3 separate regions of the Homo sapiens genome follow, and all the other regions are linked to region 1. The links are contacts of gene promoters, found by promoter capture Hi-C in human tissues and cell types (Jung and others, 2019). All regions are on one chromosome and are shown on one strand. The core of a region is centred on a gene start or on the middle of the fragment in contact, and the rest is flanking DNA. Distances in the headings are between cores, read along the strand shown. Region 1 holds the start of CNBD2 (cyclic nucleotide binding domain containing 2). Region 2 overlaps EPB41L1 (erythrocyte membrane protein band 4.1 like 1). Region 3 overlaps AAR2 (AAR2 splicing factor).

Evidence for each region. The method cuts DNA at HindIII sites, captures the fragments that hold promoters and counts their contacts. A contact is called where the count stands out against the background at its distance.
Region 2: a fragment that was not itself captured here is called in contact with the fragment with the promoter of CNBD2 in region 1 in 1 of the 25 tissues and cell types used here (IMR-90 fibroblasts).
Region 3: a fragment that was not itself captured here is called in contact with the fragment with the promoter of CNBD2 in region 1 in 5 of the 25 tissues and cell types used here (dorsolateral prefrontal cortex, mesenchymal stem cells, mesendoderm cells and 2 more).

The regions. Positions count from the first base shown.
Region 1 is chr20:35,966,733-35,970,235 of GRCh38, forward strand. CNBD2 (cyclic nucleotide binding domain containing 2) reads left to right here and starts at 1,858. Exons shown (of 12, transcript NM_001365709.1): 1 at 1,858-2,081. The coding sequence starts at 2,031. It also overlaps the pseudogene LOC124904982. The HindIII fragment of the contact is 12,223 bases long and covers 1-3,503 here.
Region 2 is chr20:36,224,773-36,228,110 of GRCh38, forward strand. All of the region lies in intron 21 of EPB41L1 (erythrocyte membrane protein band 4.1 like 1), which reads left to right. All of the region lies in intron 1 of LOC105372602 (a long non-coding RNA gene), which reads right to left. Among named protein-coding and RNA genes, the nearest start is that of AAR2, 10 kb to the right of the region's middle. The HindIII fragment of the contact is 5,078 bases long and covers 1-3,338 here.
Region 3 is chr20:36,243,971-36,247,426 of GRCh38, forward strand. It overlaps AAR2 (AAR2 splicing factor), which reads left to right. Exons shown (of 4, transcript NM_001271874.2): 3 at 727-956. Among named protein-coding and RNA genes, the nearest start is that of AAR2, 9.2 kb to the left of the region's middle. The HindIII fragment of the contact is 4,125 bases long and covers 1-3,456 here.

The DNA of each region.
Region 1 (3,503 bases), core at 608-3,107:
CAGAGTGGTCCCTGGGCTAAGGTGCTGGATGAACCTACTCCCAGCCTAGAAGCCTCCCGCTGTAACAAAGTACACCCATTTTTCTATGAGATAGAGAATGAGTTATCTTTTTAAATCATCTTTTTCTTCTTTCTCTTTTGTGTTTTTCTTCTGTTCCCCACTTCCTACTTAGCTGATTAGAAATGCAGTTATAACCTTTTGCTTTCCCTTCACCAGACACTCCTAGAGCAAGTGTATCTGTGTGCTTACTTAAAAGCTCCAGAGTAGAAACCTCTCCCACCAGATTGCCTTGAGAGACAATAGTCAATTTACAACCAAAAGTATGCCTGCCAGGAAACTCTGCCCCACCTGGAGAGTATCTCGAGACAAGGCCACTTTACAACCTAGTTCTGCCCAAGATGGTGGCAGCTCGACCAGGCGGTAGATAAGGCACCAAAGTGAGTCATGGAGACTCCCACCTGCTCATTCCCTCCTCTGCATGCCATTTATGCCAATTCCCCCTCCCGCTTTTTTTTTTTTTTTTTTTTTTTTTTTTGAGACAGAGTCTTGCTCTGTCGTTCAGGCTGGAGTGCAGTGGCACAATCTTGGCTGACTGCAACCTCTGCCTCCCGGGTTCAAGTGATCCTCCCACCTCAGCCTCCCGAGTAGCTGGGATTATAGGTGCCCACCACCTCACCCGGCTAATTTTTTTGTATTTTTAGTAGGGATGGGGTTTCACCACATTGGCCAGGCTGGACCAGACCTTGCTTCTGTTAATTGGATGCTACAAATGGAGAGCAAGTGTACCTGACATTTAGCTACACTGCTTTCTTAAAAAAAAAAAAAAAAAAAAGGCCCTGGCCAGGAGTGGTGGTTTATGCCTGTAATCCCGGCACTTTGGGAGGCTGAGGTGGGTGGATCACTTGAGGTCAGGAGCTTGAGACCAGCCTGGGCAACGTGGTGAAAGCCTGTCTTTACTAAAAATACAAAAATCAGCCGGGCATGGTGGCACACGCCTGTAATCCTAGCTACTTGGGCGGCTGAGGCAGGAGAATCACTTGAATTTGGGAGGCAGAGGTTGCAGTGAGCTGAGATTGGGCCACTGCACTCCATCCTGGGAACAAAGTGAGACAGTGTCTCAAAAAACAAAAAAGCCCTATCTTTGCAGGACAGGTGAGCCCCCAAATTGAGACTTAGCTTAGGAGAGTTCTTGGCTTTGCCCAAGGAAGGAATTCAAGGGTGAGCCAGTGGTGTTAGACAGCAATCTTTTATTGAATAGTGCTTCTCCTTGTGGGGCAGGGCTAACTCATGGGCAATGAATCCGGAGTCGATACCCAGTGTATGAGATGTTGGCAACTGTATTTATGCTCATCTCTAATCCCTTCTCAGCCTTTTGGCTGAGATCAAGTGTAGTATACGCATTCCTACCCACTTTCAATCACATGCAAATTAAGGGGCAGGCTAATGCAAATTAAGGGGCAGGTTAATGCAAATTAAGGAGTGGGTTTTTAGAGTTTTCTAGGAAAGAGGTAGCAACTTCCTGGTCATTGCCAAGACATTTGTACACTGTCATGGCACTGGTAGGAGTGTCTTATGTTAATGAGGGATGGGGACAGCTAGGGGGTCCTAGATCCTGTTTTGGTCAGCAGGGTTGTGCCATTCTCCTGTCTCACCAGGACTCTGGCAGCCATTTAGCTACTTTGAGCCCCAGTCTCCTATGTATGGAGTTGAGTAAAAGTTTGGGTGGTTGTGAGGATTAGCTGAGATAATGCCTGTGAGTATCCCATAAATGTTAGACTCCCACATTCCAATCCCTGTGTCCCCTGCCTCCAGAATCTTTCATTGTGACCTTAGGAGATTCTGAGAATGATTTTTCTCAGAGCAGGGCTTCCAGTAGCTGATGGTATGGTAGGAGGAGTGGAGTGGAGCTCTTGCCTTGTTACTGAGGAAATCTATTTGTTTCTAGTATTACTGGATTTTTGGGGAAAAATTTGTAGTCCTCCCCTTGAAAGGCAAAGGGGCTAGTTGTGCCATTTGCCTGCACAGGAACCATGAGGAGACATATGGTAACTTATGCCTGGCAGCTCCTGAAGAAGGAACTGGTGAGGAGGGGCAAGGGCCCTGGGAGGGAAGAGCAGAAGACTGAACAGACAGGTGTTTTGAGGAAGGTCGATGCAGGTGTAGGAGGGGTCTTGGATGAATGGTGGCCATCCTGTACCTTTTGGAGTCACAGCATGGCACAAAGGAGGGACCCCTGCCCTGTAGCCTACCAGCCCCCCACACTGGGCAAGCCATAAGCCACACTCAGAGCCACTGAGTCCTGTTCTGTACCCACTCTTCCTGCTATTATGAGATCCAGAGAGAACGAGGGAGGATAGAGTCAGGGTAGCAACATTGAGTCATAGGTTAAGCTTGTGAACTCTGGAGCCAGACTACCTAGGTTTAAATCCCTATCACCTATTAGTCATGTGACCCCAGGCAAGTTGCTTGGTTTGCTGTGCCTTTATTTTCTCCTCTGTAAAGTGAGATGATAATACTAGTACCTACTGCATAAATTTACTGATTAAATGATTTACATATCAGAATAGTGCTTTGGATAATGCCTGACAATAGTAAATTGTACTCAGTAAGTATTAATTTTATTCATAAAGTACCTTTCCCCATATTTCCATAGATATCTAATTTTTAAGAAATAGAACATTACAGGTGTAGGGAAAGCTCTTTACCATCCCATGCCCCTTTATTTCTCTTTAATAGTAACCACTTTCCTGAAGTTGGTGTCACCCTTCCTGTTTATATTTTTATATATTATCACATGTGTATGTATCCATAAACAATATATAGTATGTGGCACACTGTTTAAAAATGATACCATAAATAGCATCATAGTTCTTTTTTCCCACTCAAAATCATTTCAGCTTTATCCACATTGACACACACAGACTTAGTGCTGTGTTCAATCCTGTGACTGAACCATAATGTATTGATCCCTTCGATCCCTACTAATGAACATTTGTTTTCAGCCATTCACTGTTACACACAATGTTGCCATGATTACCCTCATGGCTATCCCCTTGTACATGTATGTTTCTCTGAAGAGGACATATAAAGTACATACAATTCTTCCATTGTGAAGTACACACATCCTCAACTTTATATAATGTTGCCAAATTGCTCTTCAACATGGTTGTACCATGTTTCCCAGTTCCCAGTGATAAGTGCAAAATAGTATCATGTTATTACTTTAATTTCCATTTCCATTATTTCTAGCAATGTTAAAAATGGTTTCACAATTTGGCTGGGGCATGAAGGCTCATGCCTGTAATCCCAGCACTTTGGGAGGCTGAGGTGGAAGGATCACTTGAAGCCAGAGTTGGAAACCAGCCTGGGCAACAAAGTGAAACCCCCTCTTTACAAACAATGTAAATATAAATACAAATGAATAAAAACAATATTTTCACAATTTATAGGTAATTTGAACTTTCCCTTTGAATTACCTTTGCTCATTTTGCTATTGGGTTATT
Region 2 (3,338 bases), core at 225-2,724, 260 kb after region 1:
AATATATAGAAAATTTAGGAAGTGTTATCTAGAAAATCTATTATCTAGGAAAAAAATTTTTTTTTTTGAGACGGAGTCTCACTCTGTCACCCAGGCTGGAGTGCAGTGGCACGATCTTGGCTTACTCCAGCCTCCACCTCCCGGATTCAAGTGATTCTCGTGCCTCAGCCTCCCAAGTAGCTGAGACTACAGGCGTGTGCTACCACACCCAACTAATTTTTGTATTTTTAGTAGAGACGGGGTTTCACCATATTTGCCATGCTGGCCTCAAACTCCTGACCTCAAGTGATCTGCCCGACTCGGCCTCCCAAAGTGCTAGGATTACAGGTGTGAGCCACTGCACCTGGACCTATCTAGGAAAATTTTAAATTGCATATGTAGTTCACATTCTATTTCTATTGGACAGCACTGGTCTAGAAGTGTAGGTTGGCCATGGGCGGAGCCTACCTCCCAGGCTTCCTCAGACCTTCATACAAGTGATTGTCATTCCTATCCCCTCAGTTTTTCAATCATTCTTCCTTTATTCCTCCCAAATCTCAGAGTGGTAGAGTGTAGGCCACTTGCTGAGCTGGGTGTATCACCTGGGGAAGCCTGTTTAAAATACAGGCACTGGAGAACCCTCTCCATAAAGTCTGATTTAGAAAGACTGGACTGGGACCTGGGACCTGTATTGCCTGGGAATCTTCATTTCTGCCTTGGTCCTTAGGGAGTCCGCGTGCAGCCAGGTATAGTAGCATTGATGCAAAGAACTCTGTATTGGGAATCCAGGGACCTGGCTCTAAAGCTGTTCCACTGACTGGTGTGTGACCGTAGGTCCGTTTCTTCCCGCTTGAGGACTCGGTTTCCTCACTTGCAAAATGAAGAGGTGGAGCGAGCCCCCTTCCAATTACAGTCCTCTGGCTATTTGCTTTCCTGGGGTATCTGTTGTGCTTTTCTCATCTCTTCTCCATTCCCTCTCTCACGCCTCCTCATCTTTCCCAGGGCATTCAGAACCAGGCCCCCAGGCTCCCGCCTTCCCATTTCCCTAGCCATTCAGAGCCCTCATCCTGGCCTCCACATCCTGCCCACCCCGCCGCGATGCAGTCTTTCACATCTGCCCACCTCACTGCTCCCTTTGCTGTCTCATTCCCTCCTCCTCGCCTCTCTTTAGTTCTTTCTTTGCTGCCATTGCCCCACGCACCACCATGCCCCATCTCTCTCTCTTCTGGGTTGTTCTGTAAAGGTCACCTTGTTTATGTTGCCCTGGCAAGCCAGAAGTTTCTCTCCCTTGCCTTTTCTGCCCACATGCTTTACCAGTAATTATGGTCAAGTAGAACCCAAGTCTGACTCTTAATACAGTCAGACTCACTAATTCTAGAAGAGGTCTCCTCTGAATTCAAAAACTCCTTTTTAAAGTGCTTGGAAACATTGGCTTAATGGATGGATGCCTCTTGGTACCCCAAGGAAGAGCTCTGTACTCCTGCAGAGTCTCAAGCCCTGCCCTTTATTAGCTGTGTGACCTTTTAGCAAATCATTTAAACTTTTCAGCCTATGATTCCTCGTCAGCCAAATGGCAATGATCATCACAGTAATAACAATCGCTATAATTTATGGAAAGCTTACCCTGTGCCAGGCACCAGGCTGTGCACTCAACACAAGTACTGTTACCTGCTCATTCATTTTACAAATGAGGAAACTGAGGGTCAGAGATGTTAAGTGGCTTGCTCACAGTCATGAAGCTGTGAACATGATGGATTGATTAGAGAGTGAAACCCAATCTGTTAGACTCCAAAACCCAATGGTCTTGACCTTTTCACCACACCCACTTTTCATAACGTCTGTCTCCTAGGGCTACCAAGATCATCCATGCAGCATGGTAGTTAGCACACTGCCTACCACATCGCGAGTGCTTAATAAAAGCTCATTATGACTACTATTACCATTAACTTGAAATAGGCTAACAAAATGCTGCACGCAGGGACTGTGCTGTGCTGTAATAAACCAAGAAGAATAAATCATAACACTGTATTGTTTAGATGTCTTTGGTACTTCTGAAGTGTCTATGGGCTTACGAAGACATCCCACATACCCAGAATAATGATTACACTGACTTATAGGACAGCCACTTCATTAATTGATGCACAAACTTAAAGTGCAGCCTGTTACTGTAAGGAAAAACCAAACCAAACCAAACCAAAACCAATGCCCAGTTAGGATGTAGTAATTTTGCTACTGAGTAATATTCTTTGAGTAGTATTCTTTCTACTCAATTTTGACCAGGGGCCAGGCACAGTGGCTCACACTTGTAATCCCAGCACTTTGGGAGGCTGAAGCAGGAGGATTACTTGAGCCCAGGGGTTCAAGACCAGCCTGGCCATCATAATGAGACCTTCGTTTCTATAAAAAATGTAAAAGATTAACTGGGTGTGGTGGCTGGCACCTGTAGTCCCAGCTACTTGGGAAGTTGAAGCGGGAGGATTGCTTGAGTCCAGGAGGTCCAGGCTGCAATGAGCTATGATCGCGCCACTGCACTCCAGCCTGGCAATAGAGCAAGACCCTGTAAAAAACAAAAAACAAAAAACGAAACGAAGGAAGGAAGGAATAGATGGATACAACTAGGTTTTGGAGCTAGAAACACCTTGGTAGCTGTGTGCCCAGAGGAACCTCTCTGACCTCAGTTTCCTCATCTGCAAAATGTCATTAATGTATACATTGGAGTTGCTGTAATAACTAAACAACACCTGTGATATACTGGATCTGTGTCTTGCCTACAGAAGGGGCTCAGCAAGGTGAACCTGCTTCCTTGTCCCTCTGAGGTTTTTCCATGTTTAGAGGTTGATGAGAGTACTGAGAAAGTCAGATCGTAATTCTCCACCACCAGCCTGGTGCCTGAGGCCCTGTCTCCATGAGGGTGTTTGTCTTACTGGTCTTCATCTTCTGTTCCTTCTGCAAATCCTCCAGAAACATCTGTCCCTGCTTCAGTTAACTCTGTCTTCCTTCTTAAAGTTCTTCCTTCTTGAAGTTCTTGCTATGAGCGTGGAAAGTCACTCATGTCACACAGAACCTTTTCCCTTCTCTCCCTGCAACCTTGCAGGTCAGACGTCTGGTTTCTGCTCCATCTTCTCCCACTGGCCCACCTCCTTCAGAGAGGACCTGTCTCCCAAACACCACCAGCAAGAGGGCAGCACTTGCCTAGCTTCCTAACCTTCCAAAATTTAATGGGAAAAAATTGACCTGTTCCAAAACAGGAACCTTGGGTTTTAGTCTTGGTTTTGCCAACTTACTAAGCCTGAAGCCTCTGGGCCTCGGTTTTCCTATGTGTCAAATGAGCCAAGAAAGATCCATTTTCTGTGATTCCG
Region 3 (3,456 bases), core at 529-3,028, 280 kb after region 1:
GGCAGGCTGACCCTGGAATAAGTACTCATGAATTTTTCTTTTGTGGGAGGTTCCAGAACTGTTCCCACCCAATGGAGAATCTGTTTTATCTTTCCGTTGCCCACATTGTGAAGCATTAGATGTGTGGCCTTGGGCAAGCCCTTGACCTTATCTATGAAATGAGGCAAATACCATCTTCCTGATCGCCTTGTGGAGTTGGGCTGAGGGTTACATGGTATAGTGCAGTATTTCCTGACCCTGGAGCAGACCATCCACATTAGAATCACCTGGGGAGCTTGTTAGAGCTACAGATACGAAGGCCCCATCATCTCTCCTCCACCAGAACCTCTGAGGGTGAAGCTTGGGTAGCTTTACTTTTAACAGACTCTCAGTGATTCTGATGGGCAGCCAGGTTTGAAATCCACTTGGCATAATATCCATGAACACATTTTGTAAACTTAAAATGCCAGGCAAATACTGGGAATACCTCTTCTCTAGCAGTCTGATTTTATAGAAATCCAAAGCCACAGGTTGGTTTCCCATGGCTTGAATTCATAGCGGTTCAGCAGACATCTATTGAGTACCTGTTAGGTGCAAAATCTCCTGCCAGGCTCTGCAGGAGTGACAAGGATAAAAGCTCATCTGTTGCTGAGGTCCAGTGGAATTCATGGCCTTGTGAATAGTGATGGAGAGTGTCAGCTGGTCCTCCTCTCCCTCAGAATCACTTCTCCTCTCTGCACCTTTCAGGTGAACTCCAGTTTGCTTTTGTGTGCTTCCTGCTGGGGAATGTGTACGAGGCATTTGAGCATTGGAAGCGGCTCCTGAACCTCCTGTGCCGGTCAGAAGCAGCCATGATGAAGCACCACACCCTCTACATCAACCTCATCTCCATCCTGTACCACCAGCTTGGTGAGATCCCCGCTGACTTCTTCGTAGACATTGTCTCCCAAGACAACTTCCTCACCAGCACCTTACAGGTGAGCAGTCTTTCTGACTGAGCTGATGCACATGTGGGTCAGAATTGAGGCAACAGTATGTGTTTTGTTTCTCGCTATTCTTCCATGACCCCAAAATTTTTAAATTTCAGTTTCCTAGTCTTGGGATATTTCCTGCTTTTCTCTCTCTTACTCAATTGTAAGTGCCTCTATGCCAGAAATTTTCTCTCTGTACCACCCTCTCCCTACACCTCGTCCCCAGAGTGCCTAACACTGGGGTACTTGGATTTGAATTCCTCCCACTGCTTTGGTTTACTCAGCTTAAAACAGCGTTTCTTTCTCCCTGTAGCCATGAATTGCTACAACCCAGTAAAGCAGAATTTTGAAGTTTGTTATTCCCAGTGAAACATCTGCAGCTCCTTAGATCTCATTTAAGCATTAAAATAACTTTGATTTCCTGTTCAAACAAAATGTGCCAGTTTCTGCAGAGATTCTATGACAGAAAAAGTGAAATTTGCTTTTAACTTGGCAATTAAATTTTCATTATGAGTGGTAATTAGGAAAGAAGCTTCAAACAACTTACAATCTTCATCCTATGCTATTTCCTCCCTTTGCAAACAGATTAGTCCTTTATGTACTTGGGACAGCCTCTGTCACTCACATTGTGTAACTTTCTCAAGAATAGAAGAGGCAGAAGCTGCCACTGTCAGTTTCCATACTTTCCCTCCCATGAGCTTCTTTCTTCTCCCTGTGTGTAATACCCCCATGAGGCCTGCTCCATATAAGGCAGCCTTTCACCAACCTTCCAATCCCACTCGGGGTAACAGAAGGGACGAGCATTCGTTAAATATTGGGGCTGGGCGTGGTGGTTCATGACTGTAATCCCAACACTTTGGGAGGTGAAGGCAGGAGGATCACTTGAGCCCAGGAATTAAAGACCAGCTTGGGCAATATAGTGAGACCCCGTCTCTCCAAAAATTAAAAAATTGGCCAGGTATGGTCATGTGCACCTGTAGTCCTAGCCACTTGGGAGGCTGAGACAGGAGGATCACTTAGCCCAGGAGTTTGAGGCTATAGTGAGCAATGATTATGATCGTGCCACTGCACTCCAGCCTGGGCAACAGAGTGAGACCCTGTTCACTCATTGAATCCCTTTGGAGCCTTGTAAGATGGGGGTATTATTCCCATTTTACAAATGGGAACACTTGAGAATGGTTAAATCACTTACTTGAAGTCATACAGCTGGCAGGTGGAGGTCAGGATTTGTACCCAGGCCTGAGTCTTGGTTTCCTGCCTGTGCTTATGCCCTTGTGTAGTGAACACAGTGTGAATCCCCCAGAAAGGATTCTTGATTGACATCAGTGAAGACTTCATCGAGGTCCTGTTTCTCAGAGGTACAGAACGCTTTTCTAAAGCCAACCTACTGTTGGATGAGTCCCTGTGAGCAGGCATCTGACTTAAAGCTGGCAGTTGAAGGACCTGTGTAAACCATGGCAATGAGTCAGTCAAGCGCATGATTTGAGCCTGGTCTGTTCCACTCAGAAGAGCTATAAAACTGTCCTTTTACTGGTTCTTCATATAACAGAGAAATTAAACCCCTTTGTCCTTCCTCTGTGGGGAAAATTTTCCCCAAAGGTACTGGTTATGGGTTGTGAGGCAGTGTGAGGAGGCATTAGCCTGCTAACTTGCCTCTGGCAGTGGCTGCTTCCCTCCTGATGCACGTTGATGCGTCGCACAGACACAGGAGGGCCACGGTGTTGCTGGCTGTCCAGACCATTGTTAGCACAACCAGCAGCTGAGCTCTATAATTGCCAGGCTTTGTTGCCAGCAATGATTTACAAAGCAGAAAGTGCCCAGCTGGATTGCTAGATGCCCAGGTGGGTTGTGCAAAGCTGATGGTTGGAAACATTCAGTCTTTGAACTTTTCACCAAGAAAATTCGATGTCATTATTTGGAAAAATCCAGGGCATGTGCCAAAACAAAACAAAACAAAACAAAAAACACATGTCTTTGAGCATTCTTCATATATAACATTCTACTGAAAGTGTTGAGGAATATATATACATGTGAGTTAGCCAGGGTTCCTGCCCTCAAGGGATTTGTTCATTGATTTAGCAGGTAATTGCTGAGCATCTGCTGTATAGAAGACTCTGTTCTAGAACTGGGAATATAGCTGTGAGCAAGACAGAGTCATTGTCTTGACTCTTGTAATTTGAGAAAGTTAACAGAAAGTTAACTAGCCAAGTAACTCCAGATAGCAGACTCTTGTATTTTGAGAAAGTTAACAGAAAGTTAACTAACCAAATAGCAGTAAGCAGGTAGCAGTAAGTGTTTTAGAAGGCAGTCCTGCCCTAGTACCATTTCCCTAGCCCCGGCCTTTTGGTCTCACCTAGACTGCATCGGAGTTTACCAGCCTCCGTGCTTACCAGTTACCCCATCTCTCTCCCACACTGCCACCTGAGGTGCTGCTCCATAATGCAGCTGTGATCCTGCTTCTCTGTGGCTCCTCATTGCGTGGAAAATTAAAAGCCTAAACATTGGT